Regions from separate parts of the Homo sapiens genome. Here region 1 is linked to region 2. The links are contacts of gene promoters, found by promoter capture Hi-C in blood cells and fetal thymus (Javierre and others, 2016). All regions are on one chromosome and are shown on one strand. The core of a region is centred on a gene start or on the middle of the fragment in contact, and the rest is flanking DNA. Distances in the headings are between cores, read along the strand shown.

What was found. The method cuts DNA at HindIII sites, captures the fragments that hold promoters and counts their contacts. A CHiCAGO score of 5 or more calls a contact.
Region 1: the fragment with the promoter of C1R here is called in contact with the fragment with the promoter of MIR200CHG in region 2 in 16 of 17 cell types (naive CD8 T cells, erythroblasts, M2 macrophages and 13 more); the score reaches 16.5 in naive CD8 T cells.

Annotation. Positions count from the first base shown.
Region 1 is chr12:7,089,125-7,093,768 of GRCh38, forward strand. It overlaps C1R (complement C1r), which reads right to left and starts at 3,321. Exons shown (of 11, transcript NM_001733.7): 1 at 3,263-3,321; 2 at 2,328-2,556; 3 at 932-1,124; 4 at 463-609; 5 at 169-365. The coding sequence starts at 3,264. RefSeq lists an enhancer at 3,369-3,663. The HindIII fragment of the contact is 12,054 bases long and covers 637-4,644 here.
Region 2 is chr12:6,961,262-6,965,524 of GRCh38, forward strand. It overlaps MIR200CHG (MIR200C and MIR141 host gene), which reads left to right and starts at 1,984. Exons shown (of 2, transcript NR_135032.1): 1 at 1,984-2,087; 2 at 2,940-3,186. MIR200C (microRNA 200c) reads left to right here and starts at 2,438; the gene lies at 2,438-2,505. It overlaps MIR141 (microRNA 141), which reads left to right and starts at 2,836; the gene lies at 2,836-2,930. LOC105369634 (a long non-coding RNA gene) reads right to left here and starts at 1,838. Exons shown (of 2, transcript XR_931601.2): 1 at 1,278-1,838; 2 at 371-860. It also overlaps PTPN6 and PHB2. RefSeq lists enhancers at 1-296, 297-1,096, 319-837, 646-855, 1,097-1,898 and 1 more. The HindIII fragment of the contact is 14,599 bases long and covers 1-4,263 here.

The DNA.
Region 1 (4,644 bases), core at 2,071-4,570, 130 kb after region 2:
GGATCCCCATGACCCAATTCTAGTTGTGTGGGAACTTACCCAGCCCATGGGTGATGTTGGCCGTTCCTGCCCCAGCTGGCCAGGGGATCCAGGAGGAAGTTGGGACAAGAGGAGCCAAGTGCAGACAGAAGGGGAGGAAGGGGTCTTTCAGGGGTAGGACGGCTGTACCTGTAGCTGGTCATAGGGGCAGTGTACTTGCTGGTGGTCATCAATATCAAAAGGCTCCAGGAACTTGAGGTGCAGGGTGAGGCCCCGCTCCACCCGGATGCTGTAGTTGCAGCGCAGGTCAGGGGGGTAGGACCGAGGGTACTCCAGGCTGGAGATGTAGCCTGATGCCTCCGTGTACAGCTCGCTGCTGCACTCAGCTGTGAGAGCAGAGCCACAGGGCATTACGGGGGACTCCAGCTGGCCCAGCAAGCCCTGGCTCAACCCCTTCCCCTCTGCTACACCACTCTGGCTCACCCTGGCAGGAATGCCTGTCTTCCTGAAGCTCATAGCCTGGACGGCAGGAACAGAAGTAGCCTCCAACGTAGTTGTGACACAGGTGCTGGCACTGGGGCTGGGGATCCTCCTCCCCTGATTTGCTCCGGGAAGCACATTCATCAAGGTCTGGAAGGCATTCAGGAAGGAGGGTTAAGCTTCTGCTGGGAGACCTGAGTAGTGGCTCTGATCTTAGGGAGGTCACTCACCAGAGACCTAAAGACAAAGGCATCTTTAGGCCACCTGGACCTCCAGGCCTCTCCAATGCTCTCTGGGGACTGCTCCATGGGGACAGAGCCCAGGTTGACAGGCCTCGTTAGGAAAAGCTCTCTCGAGGGGAGGAACAAGGAAAGCCAGGCTTTCGGCTTCTTTGCATTCAAGATTCCCTTTCTTGGCCCCCCATTCAATATGGCTGAGGTCAGAGAAAAGGGATCCCTGGGGGGCTACTCACCCACAGCTTGGTAGTAGGCCAGGAAGCCCTTGTAGAACATGATGGTCCCATTCTCCTCGTTGGAGAAGTCTGTGTGGAAGGTCAGCAGCATCTTGTTCCCTTGGGACATAAATTCCTTCTTTCCCGGGGGGTTGCCCAGTGGAGAACCCAGTTGCCCACAGAACCTCCCCAGGCTTTTCTTATCAGCAGAGATCTGGTGGAAGAAGGACAGGGGGTAGGAAGAAGATCTGTTGCGGAGTGGCGCACGTGGTGGCTCAGTGATGGTCCTCCTTGTCTCGCCCAGAGTGCATCATGCACCACAATGGCTCTGGCTGGTCACTACCTGCTGGGCTCAGCTGCTGCAAACTTCCCCATGTGACTTTCAGCTGTTCCCTGAGTCTCCCACTGACTCACTCTTTGCGTGTTGTCCTGGACTGGGTACCTCACCCTTTCCCTGTTTTCTGCTCCTCTGGCAGGTTTCAGGTCCTTCTCCATCCCCACCACCTCCTATGGCCTGTTCCCCTGGGGTCCTGGTTGTCTGTACCCAGCCTTTACCTGCCCCTCATTCCCAGAGCTCAGACAGCTCCGCTTTATTTTCTGTCTTCAGATTCCACCTCAGCCTAATCAAACCATTCACACCTCGAGTGCCTCCTGATGCCCTCGGCGGAACATGAGCCCTGAAGCCCACCCATCTCAGTGTCAGCAGGCACTGCCTCGTCCCTCTTCCTTCCTCCTCACAGCCTCCTCAACCTCTCCTTGACTCTGCCAGCAAACGCCCTCCCCCAACACTGCACACTCGCCAAGTCTTCTGAGCCGGTAAGACGTGCCATTGTCATGTAATTCACGCATAATCTCCAGGGGTCTCCTGGGAATGGTAGTTGTTGGACCTTCGCAGGCTCTGCTTGAGCCCTGAATCTCATTTTTACTGGATAGAGAAAGACAGGCCTGGGAAGGTACCCTTGGTTGCCACAGAGGTGAGGGTTCTGAGCACACTGTCCTTGCTGAAGGCTATTCCTGTGCTGCCAGAGCCCACATTTCTCCTCCTCATGTCCCTGTGTTCCTGTTGAAGCAGGCAGCCATGTCAATCATTTCCTTGGAGACAGGGAAGCTGAGGCACAGTGGTTTCCCAAAGACTCTCAGCTAGACAGCAGATGGGGAAGGTTTTCCTGACTCAGTGGATGTTGAATTTCCTGAGTGGGTCCTGTCCCCTTCCTTCTCTGTGCTTCTCCCCTCAGTGCTCACCGAGGGCCTCTACACCAGTGAGCGCCCATCCAGGGCATCCCCGGGCTCTCAGAGAGGCCGTTGGCCATCAGCTCTTGTGGGGCTGGGCTGTGTCTGGGGGTGTGCATGCCATACAGATCCCAGATCCCAGAGGGCCCAGTTTTGTCTCCCCTCTGCCCGCCCATCCTGCCCCTACCTTGACATAATCATAGAAGCAGCCTTCAGAAGGCTCCAGGTCAAACTGCTGGAAGACGAGCTTCACCCTGTATCCCGTGGGGACTGTGATCACAGTGGTTGTTTCAAAGTTGTTGGGGTAAGGCTTGGGGAACAGAGGGGAAGTCACCTCCCCAAATAACTTCTGAGGGATGGGAATGGAGCCTCCTGCCCTGCAGAACAGGGCCGGCACCAGGAGGTACAAGAGCCACCTGCCAAAACAAAAGAGAGTATCTGGAGCTGGAGGGGTTCAGCACTCTTGCCATGTGGGCAGTGGCTGTGGCAGGGGATGAGACGGCCATACCACTGGGCATTCTCCTCTCTGCCCACCCTGAACCTCACAGACATGTTCTCAGCAGGGGTGCGTGGGTGGGGAGGATGGCCTGTGCAGCTGCTGCATCGGGTCACTCTCCAGGGCAGTGTCCAGTCCAGAGGCCACCACACTCCCCTCACACTCCCTTTCCAGCCTCCTCCCCTGCCCGGACGCGTCCCTCCCCTCCCCTTCCAGGAATAGGACTGGCTTGGGACCAGTTAATGGAGGGTGAGGGTTTCCACCCGTGGGTCTCTGAAAGGGCTCCCACAGGTTCAGCAAGAGCGTCTGGGAGAAACCATCTGTGGAGTGGGGGACACAGGCACAGAGTGTCCCGTCCTGGGCAAGGGGTCCCCTCCTCTCGCTGCTCCCTGCCAAGAGCCCAGAGGGAAGAAAGGACCATGGCATGAGCATCTATGTATGAAGTCTCCTCTGATCCCTAGGAGGAGGGATGGGGCGTGTGTTGTGTGTGTCCACGCGTGTGCACAGTGGAACTGATGAGGTGTGTGAAGAGAGAAGGGTGTTCCTGTCTCCCTGAATTGCCTCCCATGCCCTGGCTTCTCCCCTGGCTTCTCCCTCCCACCTGGTTGCCCATCACCCTTACTCACATTTCTCAAGGCCCGTGTTGAATCCTGGGCTCTCCCGACAGCGTCTTCGTGCACTGTGTGCAGAGGGAGCCCGCGTCATGCACAGCAGGGAGGGGAGGGTTTTCTGTGGAGTGGAGGGGGGACCATTCCCGGAGGAATGTTGGAGGGAATGAACTATTTGCATAAACAAAAGATCTGAGTTTCCACTTTAATTTAGTTTTGGTTTTGAAATCCCTGTTTGTGGTGCCACCTGCTGGTCGGTGAGGGAAAGGGCTAAGGAGACGGGAGTCTGGCTTTTTAGGGCCCGGGGAGCCTTGGGTTGGAGGCCCAGATGTCTCAGTCTCTAAATCTGATCAGCTTCTCCCTTCTTCCAAGACTTTCCTGGGGGCTGCTGCTGTGTTTACAAGGTTCCTACCAAAGCAGTGGGAGACCACAGGTGGTGGTGAATTCTCTTTTCTGGGCTGTCCTTTCCCATTGACCCTGTTCTTCCTGCCCTCATTCAGCCCACAGCCCTGGTCCAAGAATGGCCCGGGTTTCAATGCCCAGGACGTAATGATAGGAACACTGGGGCAGAGGAGGGTGTGTGGGAGCGGGCAGAGGAGAGAGGAGCTTGGTTGCCTTGGGGCCCTGGCCTGCTTTAGCCATGAATGACACTTGGACATAGAATAGGGTTGGCCATGTCAGGGCAACCCTAAATCAGCCCTGGGTTTGAGACCCTCTGGGGCGGCTGCGGAGGGGGTAAAATGTCCCCATCTCCTTAGCATCTGCTCAACACAACTGCCAGGGCTGAAGCTAAGGATGCGGGTGTGGAGCAAGAGGGACTCGGTTTTTCTGAGATGAAGCCAGGCCCCTGGGAGGGAGGAGGGACCCTAGTCTCTCCTGTCCATCAGGCCATAGTGTCCTGCTTTAAAACTTTTGCTCTTGGCCACGTGTGGTGGCTCATGCCTGTGATGCCAGCACTTTTCGAGGCCAGGGTGGGAAGATCTCTTGAGCCCAGGAGTTCGAAACCAGCCTGGGCAACATAGTGAGATCTCGTCTCTAAAAGTTAAAATAAATTAAAAAACAATTTCATTGTTTTTGGAAGGCTTTCTTCATCAACTCTCCATGGCACCAAATATCTGATGGCACTTCATCCCACGGAGGGGCTTGGGCTGCAGAGCAGGACTCTGCGTTCTTAAGCCTTTGTAGGCTGTTCTGCTTGTTTCCCTTATTAGATGAATCCCTCCAACCTCCACCCTTCTGCCCCCACCCCCGTTCATCCATTTATGGGCTACCTGTTTAATGTGCAAGACACTTTCCCAGGCAATAGATTGCAAGAATTCACAGAGCTGATGCAGTTCCCCATCAGGCAGTGACCACATCATCAGTAGTTAGACAGCAGGCACACAGAAGGTGCAAGATCC
Region 2 (4,263 bases), core at 734-3,233:
CCCCAGGCAGGGCCAACCCTTCTCCTCTTGTAAATAAAGCCCTGGGATCACTGTGTGTCGCCTCTGAGCCCTTTGCTTGCCCAGTGAGTGGGCGGCCAGAGGGCAGGGCAGGATGGGTAACTGTGTGTGCCTCCGTGCGTGCCTCGCGTGAAAGCTCCGCCTTCCGTCAGACGGACGTGGGTCGGGACTCCGCCTCGCACGTGGGAGGGTGACCGTGGGTGAAGCTCCCCAGTCTCCTTCTTTAAAATGGAGGGCGATCATAACAGGGTGGTTGTGAAAAGCACCGAGATGACGGCTGACGATAAGACGGGCACAGTGACTCATCACACGCTTGCCATGTGCCCAGGCACTAAAAGACTACACACGTTAGTTCAGTCTAGGCACTTCTGTCATTCTCATTTTACCGTGGCGGAAACTGAGGGACAGAAAAACTAAGTAACTTGGTCACTTGCCCAAGGTCACAGGGCTATGGAACAGTGAGGCTGGGATTCGAACCCAGGCTGTCTGACCCCAGAGCCCACACTCCTTACCCTGGAGTTGCAGCTGGGGCCACCCTCAGGGGGGCCCTGATCACACTCCCCTGATGCTGAGTTCCAGATCTGAACTAAGAAGAGTAGTTAACAGCCGGAAGCGCAGACCTGAGGCCAGCCCGGCTGCGTCCCCTCTGGCGGGAACAGGGACAGGCTCCTCAGAGCACCCGGGCACGCCCAGCTCCTCCCCTCATCCAGGCCGCTGCTGCCCTTATCCTCTTGGGCAGAGTTTGAAGAGCTGGCTGACGTGAAGAGTGCTTTGTTTTTTGTCCCCTCTTCCTTCCCCCATGTCAGGAGTGGGGTTTCTTCTTTATTTGAAACACTGGTGTCCTGGGGAGTAAAGCCGGTGGGAGTCATCCCTCAGGAAGTGCTGGCGCCCACTCCTGGAAAGGCTGAGACAGCACAGGTCCCAAAGCCCAGAGGCTGGGCGTGCATTACTCAGCAAATCCTTACAGAGCCCCCGGCGTCACAGGCATTCACAGTCCCCCGACCTCCTGGAACTTAGGAGGCTGGTCAGGGAGACAGATTCACAAACCGATCACAAGCATCAAATAATTGCAGGCGGGTATTAAGAAGGAAGCAAACAAAGCCTGGGAGAGAGAACAGCGAGGGATTGAGCAACCCAATAGCTCCCTGGGGCTGTGGCCCTCCAGGGCACGGGTGGGGCAATCACCTGTCGGGCCCAGGTCCCCTCTCCCAGCAACGCCCTTTCTATACAAGCCGCAGCTGCACAAAGGCAAGTCCCACCTCCTCTAACCGCCCTTGGGCTACCTGCCCTTGGGGTGGGACTTGGACTCCACTGAGGGCTGTGCTGTGAGGTGGGTCCGGGAGCAGCTCGGTCCGGAGAGTGGAGCGCGATCGTTCCCTCTGCAGGCCTCAATCGAGGGGCAAGGCTGATGCTCCGGGCCAGCTGGGGTCTCTGGGTAGCGGTGGGTAACTTCACACTAGCGACACCTTGCTGGGACCCGCCTGCCCTTCACAGGCCTGGCGGGGCCTTCTCCCTCCCCTTTCCCTCAGGGGATCCCAGCACAGGCTGGGCACTGCGGGGCGGCACAGCCCAACTCCTGCCCAGCTGACCCCTCGCTGACCTCAGGGATCTCTCTGGCCTGCAGCTCCGCTGTGGGCAGGGTCTGAGGCCACAGAGGAATGGGCTAGTCCTGGGGGCAGCATCTGCTGTGGGGAGGGGACCCAAGGACAGCCCCCGCTTTTTGTACCTCTGGAGACAGGGGTGAGACTAGGCAGGTTGGAGAAAAGAGGCCCCTGGGAGAGGGTGGGAGGCCTAGAGGAGTGGCCAAGCCTTAGAGGAGGTGCCCGTGGCTGGCGCTGGGAGGGAAGGGGTTAAGGCAGTGGGGGGGCAGCCTATGGCAGGAGGACACACCTGTGCGCAGGGTGGCAGGCGGGGCCCAGGTAAGGAGCCTGCGCTGGCTGCCCGGCAGGCGGAGAAGGAAGGAGGAAGAGCGGAGGCCAGGGCGGGCTCTAGGCCGTGGAATCTGGGGCCTTAAAGCCCCTTCGTCTCCCCAGCACCCACTCTCTGGGGGCAGGTGGGCCCGGTGACAGGTAAAGGCCACCAGGGGAGAGGTCCTGGGCTGAGCTTGGGACTGCAGAGGGGGGATGAGGGTGGGTAAATCGGTGTGTGTCGCGGGTCGGGAAAGGCTGCCGGGGGTAGGGGAAGGTGGCTCAGAGGCGGCGGGCCGACGGTCGAGGGGCTTCGGAGGGCCTGCTTGGACTGCAACCTGGGCCTCGTGATCAGCGACCCAGGGTGTGGCTGGTGGCGGGCAGCAGGGCTCACCAGGAAGTGTCCCCAGGGACTCGGGTGGTGGGGGGATGGGAGCCAGGGATCTGCAGCTTTTCCGCAGGGATCCTGGGCCTGAAGCTGCCTGACCCAAGGTGGGCGGGCTGGGCGGGGGCCCTCGTCTTACCCAGCAGTGTTTGGGTGCGGTTGGGAGTCTCTAATACTGCCGGGTAATGATGGAGGCCCCTGTCCCTGTGTCAGCAACATCCATCGCCTCAGGTCCCCAGCCCTTAGCTGGCTGCAGCCCCCTCCCCACTTCCCACGCACCCCGGAAGCCCCTCGTCTTGAGCTGAGAGCGTTGCACAAGGGGTGGTTCTTGTTGGCTGGCTGCCACTAAGGGACACAATGGGCCCCAGCCCCTCCTCCCACCCAGTGCGATTTGTCACCTGGTGGATCCAGAACCCACAGTCGACCTTGAGCTTGGGGTTGGCTCGCCCCCTCTCAAGAGACCTCACCTGGCCTGTGGCCAGGGTCCCCTGTAGCAACTGGTGAGCGCGCACCGTAGTTCTCTGTCGGCCGGCCCTGGGTCCATCTTCCAGTACAGTGTTGGATGGTCTAATTGTGAAGCTCCTAACACTGTCTGGTAAAGATGGCTCCCGGGTGGGTTCTCTCGGCAGTAACCTTCAGGGAGCCCTGAAGACCATGGAGGACTACTGACCAACAACCTCTGACCTTCACCCCTCTGGATGGGGGACGAATCACTAGGCAAAGGGGAACAATGGGAAGGAGACAAAATGGCTGCCTTTACAGCTGCAGCAAGATGTGGAAACACTGGTTCCCTAGGCACCTCCATTGTCTTCCCGCCTTGGGAGCATGAAATAAATAAAGTGTGAAGGGGAACATGAGGAAGACTGATCCAAGTCACTTGACCTGTCTTTTGTCTAGTTGTTTATCTCATCTTAGCCTCCCAGCAACTCAGGATTGGGGCTGCGACGTCTGCTTTGTCTTTCATGATACTCAACCCCAAGCAGAGAAAAATATCTTAAAAATCGAAGCAGATTAACCCAGTCCCTCTGTTCAGATCCACCTGCTGCCCTATCTGCATTTGGCAGTTCCTGGACATACTTTGCACCTATGTTTTGTCTGAGTTCCACATCTTCCTTGTCTCCCCGCAGGGATGGGAAATGGGCAGTAGTGGGAGATTCAGGTATAAACGGTGGCTCTGTTTCTCTGGTGCCTGAGATTCGGGAAGGCCTGTCTTGGGAAGATAAGTGTCAGCTTATCTGTGGACTGAACAGACAGGCACCTGTTCTGTTGGCCCCGGAACTGCGGGCATGAAAAGCCCACCTCCCCAGGGGAGGCCTGTTAGCTAGCAGCTCCTCACGCCTGGTGACTGAGAAATGGAGTCTGGGGGGCCTACAGCAGGCCACGCGATCCACTGGGCTTCTGGGCACAGAAGTGCCTCAACAGGCACAGGCAGGCTCCCCACAGCCACAAGGAACCCTGCTGCCAAGGAAGCAGCTCCTGTTGGGGTCATCAGATTTTTAATCTGGCTCAGCAAAGCCATGGCTGTCCAGCCTTAAAAAAATGGGTGATGTGGGAGAAATGGAGGGTGTGTGAAGAGCACAGCTGGGCCTCGAGAACTCAGGGCCAGCCTTCCCAGCTTGGGTCCTGTTTCGGAGCCCAGGCCTTGCTTCCCCTTAGCCGCCCCAGCCAGATTCTTTTGCGCCCCCTGCTGGCACACACAAAGACAGACCCAGGAGCGCACATGTGAACGTGCGCATGCTTGCTGCCAGTTACCCAGTTCATGAACACGTGAAGCCTTGACTTCAGGTTAAGTAATAAAAATTTATTGAGAATTCCTGGGTTGGTGTTTATCTCCTCCCAGCCTTGAGGGAGGGAACAACACTGTAGGAAATCACTGAGAAATCACGCACTGTCCCCAACAGCCCCAGTTAACACAGGGAGGAGGAAAGTAATTCCCCAGAAAAGGGGCTAGTC